Regions from separate parts of the Homo sapiens genome. Here regions 1, 2, 3 and 5 are each linked to region 4. Evidence: promoter capture Hi-C in human tissues and cell types (Jung and others, 2019). All regions are on one chromosome and are shown on one strand. Each heading gives the region's core, a stretch centred on a gene start or on the middle of the fragment in contact. The rest is flanking DNA. Distances are from core to core; before and after follow the strand shown. Region 1 has its middle 50 kb from the start of LINC00548. Region 2 holds the start of LOC124903260 (small nucleolar RNA U13). Region 3 has its middle 9.4 kb from the start of ELF1. Region 4 holds the start of MRPS31 (mitochondrial ribosomal protein S31). Region 5 has its middle 75 kb from the start of LINC00548.

What was found. Contacts are between HindIII fragments. The study calls those that stand out against the background at their distance.
Region 1: a fragment that was not itself captured here is called in contact with the fragment with the promoter of MRPS31 in region 4 in 1 of the 25 tissues and cell types used here (hippocampus).
Region 2: a fragment that was not itself captured here is called in contact with the fragment with the promoter of MRPS31 in region 4 in 1 of the 25 tissues and cell types used here (H1 embryonic stem cells).
Region 3: a contact is called between a fragment that was not itself captured here and the fragment with the promoter of MRPS31 in region 4, in 1 of the 25 tissues and cell types used here (spleen).
Region 5: a fragment that was not itself captured here is called in contact with the fragment with the promoter of MRPS31 in region 4 in 1 of the 25 tissues and cell types used here (H1 embryonic stem cells).

Annotation. Positions count from the first base shown.
Region 1 is chr13:40,269,297-40,272,561 of GRCh38, reverse strand. No RefSeq gene overlaps it. Among named protein-coding and RNA genes, the nearest start is that of LINC00548, 50 kb to the right of the region's middle. The HindIII fragment of the contact is 5,758 bases long and covers 1-3,265 here.
Region 2 is chr13:41,178,657-41,181,720 of GRCh38, reverse strand. All of the region lies in intron 3 of KBTBD6-DT (KBTBD6 divergent transcript), which reads right to left. LOC124903260 (small nucleolar RNA U13) reads left to right here and starts at 1,634; the gene lies at 1,634-1,740. The HindIII fragment of the contact is 4,947 bases long and covers 1-3,064 here.
Region 3 is chr13:41,027,104-41,030,305 of GRCh38, reverse strand. It overlaps a transcript of ELF1 not described here. Among named protein-coding and RNA genes, the nearest start is that of ELF1, 9.4 kb to the right of the region's middle. The HindIII fragment of the contact is 3,245 bases long and covers 1-3,191 here.
Region 4 is chr13:40,769,684-40,772,557 of GRCh38, reverse strand. MRPS31 (mitochondrial ribosomal protein S31) reads left to right here and starts at 1,368. Exons shown (of 7, transcript NM_005830.4): 1 at 1,368-1,573. The coding sequence starts at 1,422. RefSeq lists an enhancer at 1,310-1,479. The HindIII fragment of the contact is 6,562 bases long and covers 1-2,874 here.
Region 5 is chr13:40,293,597-40,296,701 of GRCh38, reverse strand. No RefSeq gene overlaps it. Among named protein-coding and RNA genes, the nearest start is that of LINC00548, 75 kb to the right of the region's middle. The HindIII fragment of the contact is 7,754 bases long and covers 1-3,105 here.

The DNA.
Region 1 (3,265 bases), core at 639-3,138, 500 kb after region 4:
AGAAAATGCCATGTCTACCCAGCCACCTGAAAACACCTTCCCTGACAATAAAGGGAGGACTGTGCTCTAGGGAAAGACAGGACAGACCAGAAAAGTGGACCTGTTGGAAGCAGACAGCTGGCCGTGGGGAGAAAAGTGGGGTGGAGCCAGGGACACAAGACATTGGGTGGCTTGGCTGATTGCATCACGTCTGGCAAGAAGCTTGGTTCTACTGAGTTACTCTTTGCTTGGAGAAAATAGTTTAGGGAATAGCCATGGGCTTGTTGTGTGGAATGGAAACATACCCAGAATGAAAAGATTTTTAAATTGGCACCACTTGAGGTCAGATTTTAAATGGTCACACAGCATGAGCCAAATTGACTACATGCAGAGAAGCAACAAGCCACCCCGGTTGCTTATATTATTTTAATAACAGAAAGAATGCATTAGGAATTCCAGGCAAGACTTCCACCTGGACACAGTCCCAGATTCTAACTCATCTGTGCATGCCTTTTCAAATCAGCCTTTCACAAAGAGGCTGTTTTTCTCTGCAATCTCTTTCCTACCCATAAAGGAATCTGAGGTTCCTCCTTCCAGCTTCGGTTGTAGGAAGCAAGAACCCTGAGAGTGCTGCCTTGAGACAGGTGGCTCTGTGGAAGGCCACTAAGAAAACTGCCATGCAGTTCGGGGTGGCCTTAAATTCAAATAACAAAGCCTATCTCGGGAGGTGGCGTGAGGCATGCCTGGCCCCTTTCTCTGGCTTGGACTGGCTTGGACATGGTGGCTCCTGGAACCGAGAGAGGACTGAGTGTGGTAGTTGCTCCTGTCAGTCTCTGGGGTGGGGCCTGGGTGTCTCTGAGTGACGTTTGGCCTCCGCTAGCTCCACTCATGTGGCAGGAAGATGCCTGTAGCTCTTGCCGACCACTCTGAGCCACAAGGCAGGAAGGAAAACCGTGTGTGTGGCCTGATAATAATTAGGGTCCTTCCTTACACCTGGAACATTGCTGACACTGAAAAATGAATGCTGCTGTCATGCTTGTTAATTTTACCCTCTTGGGTCCTGAATGGCTCACTTAGCACTTGACTATTTTTCCAAGTCACAGAGACCAGACTAGATTTTTCTGGAAGGGAGTCAATTCTGTTCTCAGCCACAGATGGATCAAAAAGGAAAAATCTCATTGCTGTAAACATGTTGGAGCCTCCTGGCTGTGTTGTATTCACCTTCTTCAATCTGGGGGGAGTCTCTGGAGTCAGGTTAGGTTAGAGTCTTGACTCTACTAGCACTTGCCTCTAGTGAGCTTGGATTTGTTACTTAATATTCCTGAGCCATTTTTCCCTCATTTGTTGAAAAAAAATATAACAGTTGTTAAGAGGATTAATTGCAAAGTTCTTAGCACATGGCCTGGCACATAGGAGGTGCTCAAAGGGAGTATTGATGTAATTAAGAGACTTACCATGGAGTCAGGTTTAAGAAATCTCTGGAAGTGGAATCCTGGGAAGTGATGAAATGGGAATACCCTAAGTTGCTCCCCTGTGCCCACTTCTGGGGAGATGTCACCATTGTTATGGCACCCAAATTTCTGGGCAATTAGGGATCTGTGTTAGACCCAGATACCAACAGGAAGTGGCTCTTTCTGCTGATGGTGTTTATAACAAACCCCATGGACCAGCTCTCAAAAAGAGAACCCAGCCTCCTTAGCAAACTCAGCTGTGGAGTATAAGCTCCTCTAAGGGAAAAACCTCATTTGCTTTTGTGCACTACTTTGTCCTATGCAGAGTATGGCATATCATGGGGACTCATTTTGAGGTGAAGAAAGTGATGATGGAGGAGCACAGAGCTGAGGGCCCCATGTCGATTCCTGCGTCAAGCTGCAACTCATGTTGTGCCGAGCACAGTCAAGGGAAATGGAGCTTGCTATCACAGGATATTAATTTGGTTCTTGGGGACTTGCTTTGGGCAATTGCAGAGACACAAACTAAGATGGCTTTATTAATAGAAGAAAATGTCCTGGCACATAGACTGCTCAGGATGTAAAGAAATAAGAAACTGATCCAAGAAACAGCTGTATCTTAGCTACACTGGTTGAAGGTTATCACTAGTTTCTTAGGGGGAGAAAATTTAGGACCAGGTTCAATTGTCTAGAATATCTAGTGAAATAATAGACAATTCTCATTACAGAATACCAGTCCAGTCTTCTCAAAAAGTCTTATTGTCAATTTCATATGGGGTTCAGTTAAAGACTTCCTCCAGATACTACTGACTGTTAGAATCAAGGTTCTAGCCTGGTGTGGTGCCTCGTGCCTGTAGTTCCAGCTACTCTAGAGGCTAAGGTAGGAGGGTCACTTGAGCCCAGGAAGTTGAGACTGCAGTGAGCTATGAGTGAGTTACTGCACTCCAGCCTGGGTGACAGAGAAAGACCCCATCTCTAAAAAAAATAAATAAATAAGAACCAAGGATCTGATATTTGAGTGGGAAAAACTGAGTGTTAAAAACATTAATCCTGCTTAGGTGGGATACATGGTGCAGAGGACGTGATCTGCTCTTGGTAATAATACTGTATATTATATTTTTGGCTTTGTTAAACCATAGTCGCTTTGTTAAACCATAGTCACATCTCTACTTTCATTTTATCCTCACATTATGCATGAGAGGTTAGCAGGACAGAGAGAGTGACTAGTATTGTCCTAATTTTGTAGTTGAGAAATTCAGGTTACAGTTTACTTTACTAGGAAAGGGCAGATTCTGGGTTTAGTTGGAGCAAGAAACTTGAGTCCCCAGCTGCAGGGTTCTTTGTCTACATCCTGTTAAATCATGGTTTAAACTGCCCAGACTGAAGACCCTGCACCTTCAGTCATGTCATGGGTCATGCTTCTATCTTCCAGCCCAGGAGGGTGGCCTGGTGGGATAGATAATGACTGCTATAAGGAAGGGTCTGGGAGGGGCAATGACGTGGCAATGATGGGTGTACATGAAGATGAGGGGAGGGAAGAATTTTCAAACCATCCGTGCACAGCTGACTTTTGCTTAACCAGAAATCTCATCTTCCAGAAGAATTTGGATCATGGGAGCAGGTTTTGAAAGGGGATCACTCAGTTTAAGTGGTGTCTGTGAATAGCAAAAGCAGCAGCCGAGCCTTGTCCAGTCTGTTTGCCCAGCCAAATCCAAAGAATCTGGGAATGCGATGATGACAGAAGCCTTGGGTAATGACTGCAGCCATCACATATTTTGACTTTCATCAAATGACTAGTATGTCCAGACAGAGAGACCTTGCTGTCTGAACCATCT
Region 2 (3,064 bases), core at 10-2,509, 410 kb before region 4:
TTTAAGACAGAGTTTTGCTCTTGTTGCCCAGGCTGGAGTGCAATGGGGCGATCTCGGCTCACCACAACCTCCACCTCCCAGGTTCAAGTGATTCTCCTTGCCTCAGCCTCCCAAGTAGCTGGGATCACAGGCATGCTCCACCACGCCCAGCTAATTTTGTATTTTCAGTAGAGACAGAGTTTCTCCGTGTTGGTCAGGCTGGTCTCGAACTTCCGACCTCAGGTGATCCGCCCACCTTGGCCTCCCAAAGTGCTGGGATTATAGGCGTGAGCCACTGTGCCCAGCCAGTGCCTTGCTTTTATAGCCACAGGCTTTTCCCTCCTCATCTCCCTAGTCAACCCCTAATCTGTAATTCATCTCTGTAATTTTGTCATTTTAAATTTGTTATATAGGGTGGGCATGGTGACTTATGCCTGTAATCCCAGTGCTTTGGAAGGTTGAGGCAGCAGGATCATGTGTGGTCAGGAGTTTCAAACCAGCCTGGGCAACATAGCAAGACCACATCTCTACAAAAAAATTTTTTAATTAGCCAGGTGTGGTGGCTGTAATTCTAGCTACTCGGGAGGTCGAGACAGAAGGATCACTTGAGCCCAGGAGTTTGAGGTTACAGTGAGCTATGACTGTGCTGCTGCACTGCAGCCTGGGCGACAGAGCAAGACCCTATCTCAAAGAAAAAAAAGTTATATAAATGGAATCATACTGTATTTAATCTTTTGAGATCATGTTTTCACTCAGCATAATTCTCTTGAGATTTATCCAAGTTATCGTGTATATCAGTAGACATTCCAAATGGTACAGTAATGTCACACCGAGAATCTGCTCCTCCATAAAAGCAATGAGGACATTAGCAAAAGCTGTTGACATAAACTTATTAGAATTGTGGAAATTAACAAAAGCTTGCCACATTCCAAGGAATGTTTACCTAAGAAAAACAGCTGAATCTCAGTAAGAACGGAAAGCCTATAGTGTTTTAACTTGCTCTAATCCTATACACCTCTCCCCAGTTCCATGGAAGCCTTGAAACTCAATAGCTTCACATTTATAGTAGTTGTGGAAAGTAGAGCTTAGCAGCCACTGGAGAGAAAAGAACAGATTTGAAGCCCAAAAAGGCTCATTCCCAGAGAATTAACCACGAGTTGACCTAACAGCTCACTGAAAATCTCCATAATCAGGACTTCTTTTAATTCGACCTATTTCAGAGTACACTCTGTATACAGCTTGATGTACAGGGCATTTATTTCTTAAAAAACAATCAGTAGTTCAACAAAAGAAATTAGACTTAACCAAAATGAAACTTTTGTGCTTCAAATCATAACATCAACATACATAATGTGAGTGAAAAAAAAGTAAAAAAACAACTCACACACCGGGAGAAAATATTTGCAAATCATATATCTGATAAGGGACATGTGTCTAGAATATGTAAAGAACTGATACAATTCAACAATAAAAAGACAAATAACCCAACTGAAAAATTGAGAAAAGATTTGAACAGACATTGCTTCAAACAAGATAGACAAATGACCAACAAGCACATGAAAAGATACTCAACACATTAGGGAAATACAAATGAAACCACAAGGAAATACCACTTTACACCTACTTGGATGGCTATAATAAAAAGCAAAAGCAGATCCTTTTGTAGTTTATAAGCGTGATGACTGGGGTTTCACGTGCATGTGTGAAATGTGCCTTCCCCAAGCCTTGTTATGACCTCATTGGAACATTACCCCTTTGACATGAAAATTCAAAAAAAGACAAAAGCAAGGATGGCAAGGATGTGGAAAAACTGAAATCCTCATACCTGCTGGTAGGAGTGTAAAATGGTACAATGGCTTTGGAAAACAGTTTTCTGTTCCTCAGAAAGTTAACAGAGATACCATATGACTCAGCAATTCCACTCCTAGGTACATAACCAAGAGAACTGGAAACATATGTACAGAAAAAACTGGTACACTAATGTTCATAGCAGCATTATTCATAACCGACAAAAAGGAGGAAAAACCCGAATGCTCATCAACTGACAAATAGATGAGCAAAAGGTCAATATCAGTGCAATGGAATCTTATTTATCCATAAAAAAATAGAGTTCTGATGCATGCTATAACAGAGATGACTCTTGAGCATATTAAGCTAAAGAAGCCAGAAACAGAAGGAAACATATTGTGTGATTCCATTTATATGAGAGATTCAGAATCAGCAAATCCATAGAGACAGAGAATAGATTAAGGATTGCTTAGGTCTGGGGCGTGAACATATGGACAATAAGGTGGAAATGGGGAGTAATGCTAATAGATATGGTAATGCTAATAGATATGGAGATTCTTTTGGGAGTAATGACAGTGTTTTGGAATTACTGGTGATTTTTGCACAATTATCTAAGTAGTGTTTGTATTGTCAGTGTTCTAAAAACAACTGAACTTTAAACTTTAAAAAGATGAACTTTATGGTATGTGAATTATATCTCAATAAAGCTTTTATTCTTAAAAAAAAGTTCATTTCCTTTTTATTGCCAGAGTATTCCATGGTATGTATATAACACAGTTTGTTTAATCATTCATCCACTGAAGGACATTTGGTTTTATTTGCTTGTTTCCAGTTTTTGGCTATTATGAGTAAAGCTGAAATAAAACAATACTTTTTTTTTTTTCTGTCACCCAGGCTGGAGTGCAGTGACGCAATCTCGGCTCACTGCAACCTCTGCCTCCTGGGTTAAAGCGATTGCCCCGCCTCAGCCCCCCGAGTAGCTGGGACTACAGTCATGTGCCACCACGCTCGACTAATTTTTGTATTTTTAGTAGAGATGGGGTTTCACCATGTTGGCCAGGCTGGTCTCGGACTCTTGACCTCAGGTGATCCACTTGCCTTGGCCTCCCGGCCTCCCAAAGTGTTGGGATTATAGGTGTGAGCCACCGCGCCTGGCCCAAAACAATACTGTTTTAAAACACACAAATAACTCTTATTTTAATGTTGAATCCTCCTAATTCAAGAATTCTGGGAATTTACGTGTTAAACCCTTCTAGTAAAAAATGATCATGCTTCAGTTAGCAGTTTCTTCCCTTAA
Region 3 (3,202 bases), core at 320-2,819, 260 kb before region 4:
TTTCTCAGACCTTATCTAACTTGATCTGCCATCAGCATTTGGCACAGTTGCTCATTCCTTATTCTTGGAAACACACATGCCTTTTTTTCTTCCTACATTTCTGAGTATTCCTTTTAGCCTTCTTTGTTGTTATGCCTCATCTTTTCTACTTCTAAATGATGGAGTGTCCCAAGAGTCTGTCATTGTTGCTTTTCTAACCTATAGCTTTAATATTATATACATGTTAATGTAATATAAATATAAATATATATATATGGTAATTATTCCCAAGTTTATGATCTCTAGCCCATACCTTTAACCTGGGCTTTAGGACTGTATATTCAACTCCAGGACTGCATATCTAATTTGGTGTCTCTAGTCTGATAACTAATGAGCATCTGAAGCTTAATGTGTTCAGAACTGAACTCTGATATTCCTCTACCTCAAACCATTGCCATTTGTCATCTTTCCTGTCTCAGTTTTGGTAACTGCAGTCTTTCCAGTTGCTGGAGAAGGAGGGCGCCCCAGCTCCAAGAAAGAGAGAATTCACCTTTCTATCCAGGTCCTTAGCCAATTGATGGTGCCCACCCACATTGGATGAGGGCAGATCTTCCTTATGGAGTCCACTGATTGAAATGCTTATCTCCCTGGGCACTTTGGCTCACGCCTGTAATCCTTGCACTTTGGGAGGCTGAGGCGGGTGGATCACTTGAGCCCAGGAGTTCAGGACCAGCCTGGGCAACATGGCAAAACCTCGTCTCTCCAGAAAACATAAAAATTAGCCAGGCATGGTGGTGCATGCCTGTAGTCCCAGCTACTCGGGAGGCTGAGGTGAGAGGATCACCTGAGCCTGGGAGGTTGAGGCTGTGATCAGGCCACTGCAGTCAGGCCTGGGCAAGAGATCAGGACTGTTTCAAAAAAAATAAAAAAGAAATGCCAGTCTCTCTGGAAACACCCTCATCCTCACAGACATACCCAAAAATAATACTATACCAGTTATCTGGGTACCTCTTAATTCAGTTAAGTTGACACCTGAAATTAACCATCACAGTTCCACCCCTTGTCAACTTGGCACCCATGTGGCACCCATGTGCACCTACTTAAACCATATTTAATCTCCGAATAGAGACAATTACGAAATTGTAGCTCTGCCTAAAATGATACAACTACCCTGCATACAATTGAAAATGCACTGATTTATCCTCAGAAGAGGAGGTAAAGCTCTTGAATGTTGTTCTCTTATGTCCCACAATTTAATTATATGATGTAAAATTAACAATACTTGGCCGGGCATGGTGGCTCACACCTGTAATCCCAGCACTTTGGGAGGCCGAGGCAGGCAGATTACGAGGTCAGGAGTTTGAGACCAGCCTGGCCAATATGGTGAAACCCCGTCTCTAAAAATACAATAATAAAAATGGAAAAATTAGCCGGGCATGGTGGTGTGCACTTGTAGTCCCAGCTACTCGGGAGGCTGAGGCTTAAGAATCGCTTGAACCTGGGAGGCAGAGGTTGCAGTGAACCAAGATTGCGCCACTTCACTCCAGCCTGGGCAACAGAGTGAGACTCTGTCTCAAAAAGATAAAAAATAAATTAGCAATACTTAAATACTGATATAAAGTAAATACATCTTATATTACATAGTAAAGGAATAAGAGGAAAGAACACAAAGATATTTGCTTTGTTATATCTATGTATATATACACACAAATGTATTCTGAACAAAATAGGGAGAATATAGTCATGACAGTTAAAATCCTCATTTCCCTAACTGGTCAGGTGGTTATAGCTGGCATTGATTACTGCCTTCTTGTACTACATATTCTGTATTCTGTTTGCCTTCAGCAAACGCCTTAGCTGGTCGTGGTTCTTTATTTGGTGGGGTGACCCAAAGCTTCATTCTTAAAGGGTCTGGGCTATTAGTAGACCTTCCTGGATTGGGTTGTTGTAGTTTCCCGTTGACTTATTTAAAGGGCATGATAATACAAAGAGATGCCCCAAGGGATCTCCTGTATTCCAGACATACTCTTCTTTATCTGCACTGTGAGTTAGTAGTCCAGCTTCCCATTCCTAGTTTAGATTAATCACCCCCAGCTATGTTGACTCAGAGGCATGAGGAGCCCAAAGTGGCTGGATGGTAGTTTTGACTCCAGTTCCATGGAATCATTATTGTGTTTCCTGGTGGAAGTATTCCTCTCTCTCTGGAACTAAGACTTCTAGGCCAAAAGAGCATAAAGTTACGGGAACAGGAAGTAAAAATTTTGCTTGTGGGTAATGGTGAGTAGTGCCATTCCTATTTGTATTCCTTAGTTCAGGAAACAAGGAATATTGACTCCTGGCTGTGGGAAAAACAGTACCATGTAGTGGATGCTAACTCAGAATGTGTACAGCCTTCTGGAGAACCTAGTGCTAGACCTGCAAGGTATTATCACCTAGCTGGCACTGTAACTGAATCTTCTAAGGGCCATTTCACCATCCTGTCAAGCTAGCTGCTTCAGGATGGCAGGGAACATGGTAAGACCAATGAATTCCATGAGCTTGAGCCCATTACCCCACTTTTGTGACTGAGATAAGTTCCATGGTCAGAAGCAATGCTGTGTAGAATGCCATGATGGTAGATAAGGCATTCTGTGAGTTCATGGATGGTAGTTTTGGGAGAAGCATTGTGTGCAGGAAAGGCAAATTTGTATCTAGAGTGTCTATTGCAGTAAGAACAAACTGCTGCCCCTTCTGTGATGGAAGCAGCCACCAGGTAGCTGGCGGATCACCCCAGGGAATGGTGCCATACTGGGGGCTCATTGCTGGTCTCTGCTGCTAGCAGATTGGGCACTCAGCAGTGGCCATACCCAGGTGAGCTGTAGTGAGTGGAAATCCATGTTGCTAAGCCCGTGAATAACCTCCATCCCTGCCACCATGTCCAGGATGAGCCCCCTGGGCAATGACAGGTGGCTGGGGAAAATGGCTGACTGGTATCCATAAAACAGGTCATGCTATCCACTTGATTATTAAAGCCCTCCTCTGCTGAGGTCACCCTTTGGTGAGCATTCACATAAGACAAATATCTTCACATCCTTTGCCCAGTTAGGAGAGATCTGTTCTGCCCCAAATTTCTTTGTCACCAATTTTCTGGTTATGTTCCTTCGAAGTCCCTGAGCATCCTGTGAAACCATTATCTATTGCCTATGCATTGACGTATAATCACACATCTGGCCATTTCTCCTTC
Region 4 (2,874 bases), core at 119-2,618:
TGAGAGGACAGGGAAAATGTTGATGTAAACTTTGGAATGCCTTTATGGAATTTTAGGCTAGTGGTTCCCATGTGTCCTATTAGCCAACATTTCCCACCAGATTTATTCTCATCCCCTTCCAAGTTTGGGAACCCCACATCTCTTCTGGGGTCACAGTTCCCTGTTTCATGAGGGACAGGTAAAAGCCAAGTCTCTCTCTTGCATCTTTTCATCCTTTTTTTTTTTTGAGACGGGGTCTCACTCTGTTGCCCAGGCTGGAGTGCAGTGGCACAATCTTGGCTCACTGCAGCTTCCGCCTCCCGGGTTCAAGCTATTCTCCTGCCTCAGCCTCCCGAGTAGCTGGGATTATAGGCACTCGCCACCACGCCAGGTTAATTTTTGCATTTTTAGTAGAGTCAGGGTTTCACTATGTTGACCAGGCTGGTCTTCACCCCTGGCCTCAAGTGATCTGCCCGCCTCGGCTTCCGTAAGTACTGGGATTACAGGTATGAGCCACTGTGCCCCCGGCGTAAATCTTTTTTTCTTTTCTTTTTTGTTTTTTTGAGACAAAGAATCTCGCCCTGTAGCCCAAGCTGGAGTGCAATGGCGCGATCTCGGCTCACTGCAGCCCCCACCTCCCGAGTTCAAGCGCTTCTCCTGCCTCAGCCTCCCCAGTAGCTGGGATTACAGGCGCCCGCCACCACGGCCGGCTAATTGTGTGTGTGTGTGTGTGTGTGTGTTTGTATTTTTTTTTTTTTTTTTTTTTTTTAGTAGAGATGGGGTTTCACCATGTTGGCCAGGCTGGTCTCGCACCCGTGACCTCAAGTGACCCACCCGCCTCGGCCTCCCAAAGTGCTGGGATTACAGGCGTGAGCCACCGTGCCCGGCCATAAAGCTATTTTTGAAAAATGAAACCTATGTCTCATTTTGACTCTACATCAAAAATAAAGACTGAAAGGAAACGCTAATTCATAGGGCAGCAGGTCTTTTAGTAATTTTTTTTAAACCTCTTTGGTGGCCATGGCGCATTTTGAGAACGTGGTGAACGCTGTAGACCCTTCCCCTCCAAACATCGCAAAATATTGTCTGTTAAAGAAGAGACTGATCTCACTGGCACCATCTGTAGTTTTTGCACAACTGGTCACGCCCTCCACTGTCGGGTTCGCCGGTCTGGGACCCGCCTCGGCCAGCGAACCTTTGCTGAACTCTGGCGAGGACTCCGCCTCTAGGACTACAATCGCGGGGTGGGTCGGGTCGCTTGGAGGCAACTGGCTCCGCCCGGCCGCGGGCGAGTCCGGAACACAGTTACCCGCCCCTGTAGCCCACCGGAGCGCAAAGGGGGAGGAAGGCGCCAGGCCGGAAGCGGAAGAGAGGGCGGGGACGTGTTTGGCAGCGGGACGCACCATTTCAGTTGTGTTCTTGGTTCATTTCGTGTCTCGGCGATGTTTCCTAGAGTCTCGACGTTCCTACCTCTTCGCCCCCTTTCCCGCCACCCTTTGTCCTCTGGAAGCCCGGAGACATCAGCGGCTGCGATTATGCTACTCACTGTTCGGCACGGAACAGTCAGGTACCGCAGTTCAGCGCTGTTGGCCCGGTAGGTCCTCAGGCAACCCCGTGCCCCGTCCTGTACATCCTCCGACTTCCTGGGGTCGATGTTACCACCTGCTGGGTCTTAGAAGCTATTGCTTTAAATCTGAGGAAAGAGAAATCCCAGAAAGAAAAGATGACTTGCCCAAGGTCATAGTGTGCGTGAAAACAGAGCTACGATTACAAACCTGGTCGCTGTGCTCTACTACACGCCGCGCCTCATTCCTCTTGTCATCATCTCCTGTCAGTTTACCCAGGTTTTTATCTTTTGCCTCCCAAGATTTATTTGATAGTCTCATTTGTTTTCCTTCATTTATTCTTTAGTTCATTACTGAAAAACTCGAAAAACAGCGTGCCAGTACTGGTTGTAAACCCCAAGTGAGACAGTCCTGCCATCACGGAGCGTGTAGTTCCAGAAAGTAGACAATTCAAGTGCTATGTAGTGAAGTAATAGCTGAGATAGTGTAGGTAAACAGAGTACACTATTCAGCCAACATGAATGAGTACTTGCTGGGATAGCAAATAGGGACACCTAACCATTATAGGGGAGACTCAGGATATCGTTTCTGGAAAAGTCTGACGAAATCTGAAGGAGGACCACTGGTTGAAGTTAGCCAGGAAAAAAGGGAATTGTGGCATACTTGGTTTTGGTATTTATCCTCCGAGAACTTTATTATGAAAACCTAATTCCGCTGCATAAATTCCATGCGTAACACTCAGAAGGCAGTTTGGTTAAGTACAGTGCTGAAGCAGGTTAGTAGCAGTGAAGATGGGAAGGACCAGCTGAATGGAGGAGAAAAATTGCACAGGTAGAATTAAAGGGATGTGACGTCATGGGATAATGGTAGGGTAGTCAGAGATAGCAAAAATTTCAACTGGCTGCGTTGGAGTATTAGGGTATCCTTAATGTTAACAGAAGAATGCGGAGCCAGGCTTGAGAAAGATTTTTCCATATATTATAATTTTTAGAAAACAACAAATACCTGTTTATGTTAGGGGGCCTTTTAATATAGAAAGTGTGAAAAATGGAAAGTCAGTCTGAAAGAGGAGTCTTGAATGTGGTGTTGAAGGTGTTGCATTTGAAGTACTGATGAGCTGCTGTCAGTGGAAACAAACTCAGGTGGGAGGTTAGGTCGAGAGGTTTATTATTTTTAGTGCTAGGGAGTTACTTAGACGTGATTTTCCTATAATGTAGATTGTTTTCTGTGGTATGATAGCAGTCTTGAAAGAAAACATTGTAGTAAAGATTACATGTGAGATTCATTCCCCTGATTACCACTTTTCTATTAAAATACCTTGAATAGTAAC
Region 5 (3,105 bases), core at 122-2,621, 480 kb after region 4:
CTAGGTGTAGGGCAAACTGACTTTAGGGAAATTTTAGTTAATAATTTAACTGTAGAGCAAGGATGATAATAGTCCTTCTCTAAACTAAATCACCTTTGTAAAACTAATTAATGAAAGCCCACAAGGTTAGGATTATAAGGGTCTGAATTCTGCTAAGATGTAGGCATAGTTAAATGATAATCAGCCATAGTTCCGGAGATCACAGGATTTGTAACTTCCCCAGTTATTCTTGTAAGTAACATTACTATTGTAGAAACTAAGATTGGACTTTTGCAATGTCTTTTCAGACTTTGCATTTCTGATTACTTGGCTGACTCCACCCAGACCTGTGACTCATGACTCAGCTGGTCCTGCGGCCCCCACCCAGAGGTGGACTAAGCACGCAATAACCATTTTCCACATCTTCCACATTTCCCCCATGATGGCATCCCCAACCAATCAGCAGCACCCATTCCCTAGTCCCCTGCCCACCAAACTATCCTTGAAAAACCCTAACCTCCAAGGGTTCAGGGAGACCAATTTGAGTAATAACTTCATCTTCTGCATGGTGTGGCTGGCCTCATGTCAATTAAACTCTTTCTTTACTGCAATGCCATTGTTTCAGTGAATTGGTTTTGTTAGTGCAGTGGGCAAGAAGACTCCACTGGGTGATTACAGGAGTTTGTCTTTAAATTGATACATTAATAGTCTAAAACGTAAGAATGAAAATTTTAAAAGACATTTGCCTTTTGGGTGTTGATTATATTTATTTCTTTTTGATAAATGTATAGCTGTGCATCATTATGCATTTATCAAGTACCTGACAGGGGCCAGATGCAGTGTAGGGCACTAAAATTAACCCTAGATTATCTCTGGTATTGGTAAGCAGGGAGGAACACCATAATTTATTAATTTTCCAATGCTCTTGAATTGCTACTGGAGTTCCTGCTAATCAATACAATCGATTCATTTGAGTGTCATTCTTTTTCCCTTCTTTGTCTTCTGGCTGCAGTGAGTGTGACTGGTGACCACCTACAGCCCAGGCTTCAGAAAGTTGCACTGTGTAGGAGGCAGAGTCTGGGGCACTGACCATCCACAATCAGAACCCAGCACTCTTGAGCTCCTTGAATGCTCAGTCAAGAAATTCTGACATCCTTCAAATTCAAATTAATTACATCTTGATTCTTTATTTTTAAAATGAAGGAAACTTGCAAAAGAGTACTCTATAAATAAGTTGAGTGAAATAGAAATGGAACATTAGAACCAAAGAAATGAGTCTATGAATATACTAATTGTAAGTAATTTGCCTTGTTTGAGACTTGAACTTGGCTTTGAGCTTCATGGAAGCCTAGACAAAAGAGAAATAGGATGAACTGTATCTTTATTCACAGCTCCCTGGAAAAGACAAATCTGACCATGCACCAAATCTCAGAAGGATTTTTATGGGGCTGCACTGGGAAAATCTGGGTTTGAGGGACACCTGCATTTCCCACTAAAACAATGACTGAGAGCAAATTATTAATCATCTATAGCATGATCCAGTTTCCTCCCCATTCTTCAGTGCGGTTAATAGTAACTGCTCTTCAGGGTTGCTGTGAGAATTAAATGAGGGGCTTGGTAGAGTGCATTTTGCATGACTGTTTATTGGAATCAATCTAATTTTTAATCTGTAGGGGCCTGGATAAATAAAGTCTGATACATTTCTACCATGGCATATTACATCTTCCTTCTTGCCTCACCCTCCTCTCCCCAACCACACCCTGTGTCAATGACTCTGCTGTTGATCCCAGGAGTGTATTTCCCCATCCCACAAATATTGGACTTGACCATATGACTTGCTTTGGGCCATGAGAAGTAGACAGAGGCAACTTGAGGGGCACTATGTGTTTCCATTCACTCCTCTTGAGCTTCTGCCATCACCATAAGAAGAATGACACTCTCTAGAACAGACATGGGAAGCAGACTGGACCCAACCTGAAGCTCAGAGTCAAGACGAGACCCTCAGTGTGAGTGAAGAAAAAGATAGTTGTTGGGAGTCATTGGTGATTTGTTATGCATCATTACTGTGACAATTAGCTGACTACAGTGGTCTTCTATGAACAATCCTGGAAGACATCTGTAATATATTAAGTGAGAATAAAAGTTTATAAAGCAGAATAATATAAAATTCTCCTTTAGTAGGAAAATATAAATGACCTCATTTTGTTAAAAAAGAGTTTGTTTATACGTACAATTAAAAAGTGTGAGGGATGGCATTTACATATTTAAAAGTATAAATTTGAAAACACACATTTATACACATTGAAAAGAAAACTGTAGGTAATTTTTCTTTATTGCCTTTCTGTGTGTGTGCGTGCACGTGAGTATGTGCACATGAATTAAGAAAGCTTAACAGACCAAACACGCAGCTTCAAAGCAGGCTGCCACTGCAGCAAAACTAGTGGCCGCAATGTCTGGGGGTGTCTAGGAGAATTTGTCTGCCTGAATTTTTTGCTCAGCCCTGCCCTTGTTGAAAACAGTCTTTCATTCTCTCAGCTACCTCTGGGCCAAGGAAGTATTGCCCAGAGCTGCACACCTAAGGAGTAGTGTCTTTAGGGATAGAAATCAAGTTGATTTGCTAGCTTGCATTCTTATTTCCTTCCAGAAATATCTGTGCGTGGGCACTATCCTAAGTACTCGGTGAGGCTGGAGTGAACAAGATATTCTCACAGAGCATTGGGAGATCAACTCCCAGACTAACACTTGATCCATTCTGCATGTGTCTCTACTTCATGCATGCACACATACCTAGTTTTACCTATATGTGTAAAGCCATCTTATAATCAATTTGCTTCTCTCTTTTTAGTGCTGTCTCTATCATTATTTTTCCCTTTGTCTTTTGGCTCCCTTCCTCCTCACCTTCCTGTCCTATTGAATGTTCCATCCTTCCACCTCATCCCAACATACCCATGACGACAAACTTGTTGGTCGCGTGTATTTTTCTTTACGACTTTTTAAATGATCATGTATATATCACATGTATCCATCTTTGTGGACATATATCCATGTCATATGTCAATATATCCAGGCATATTCATGGCATCAGGTAGAAAGACTTGTGTCCTTGCCTTTACAGAATACAGTGGT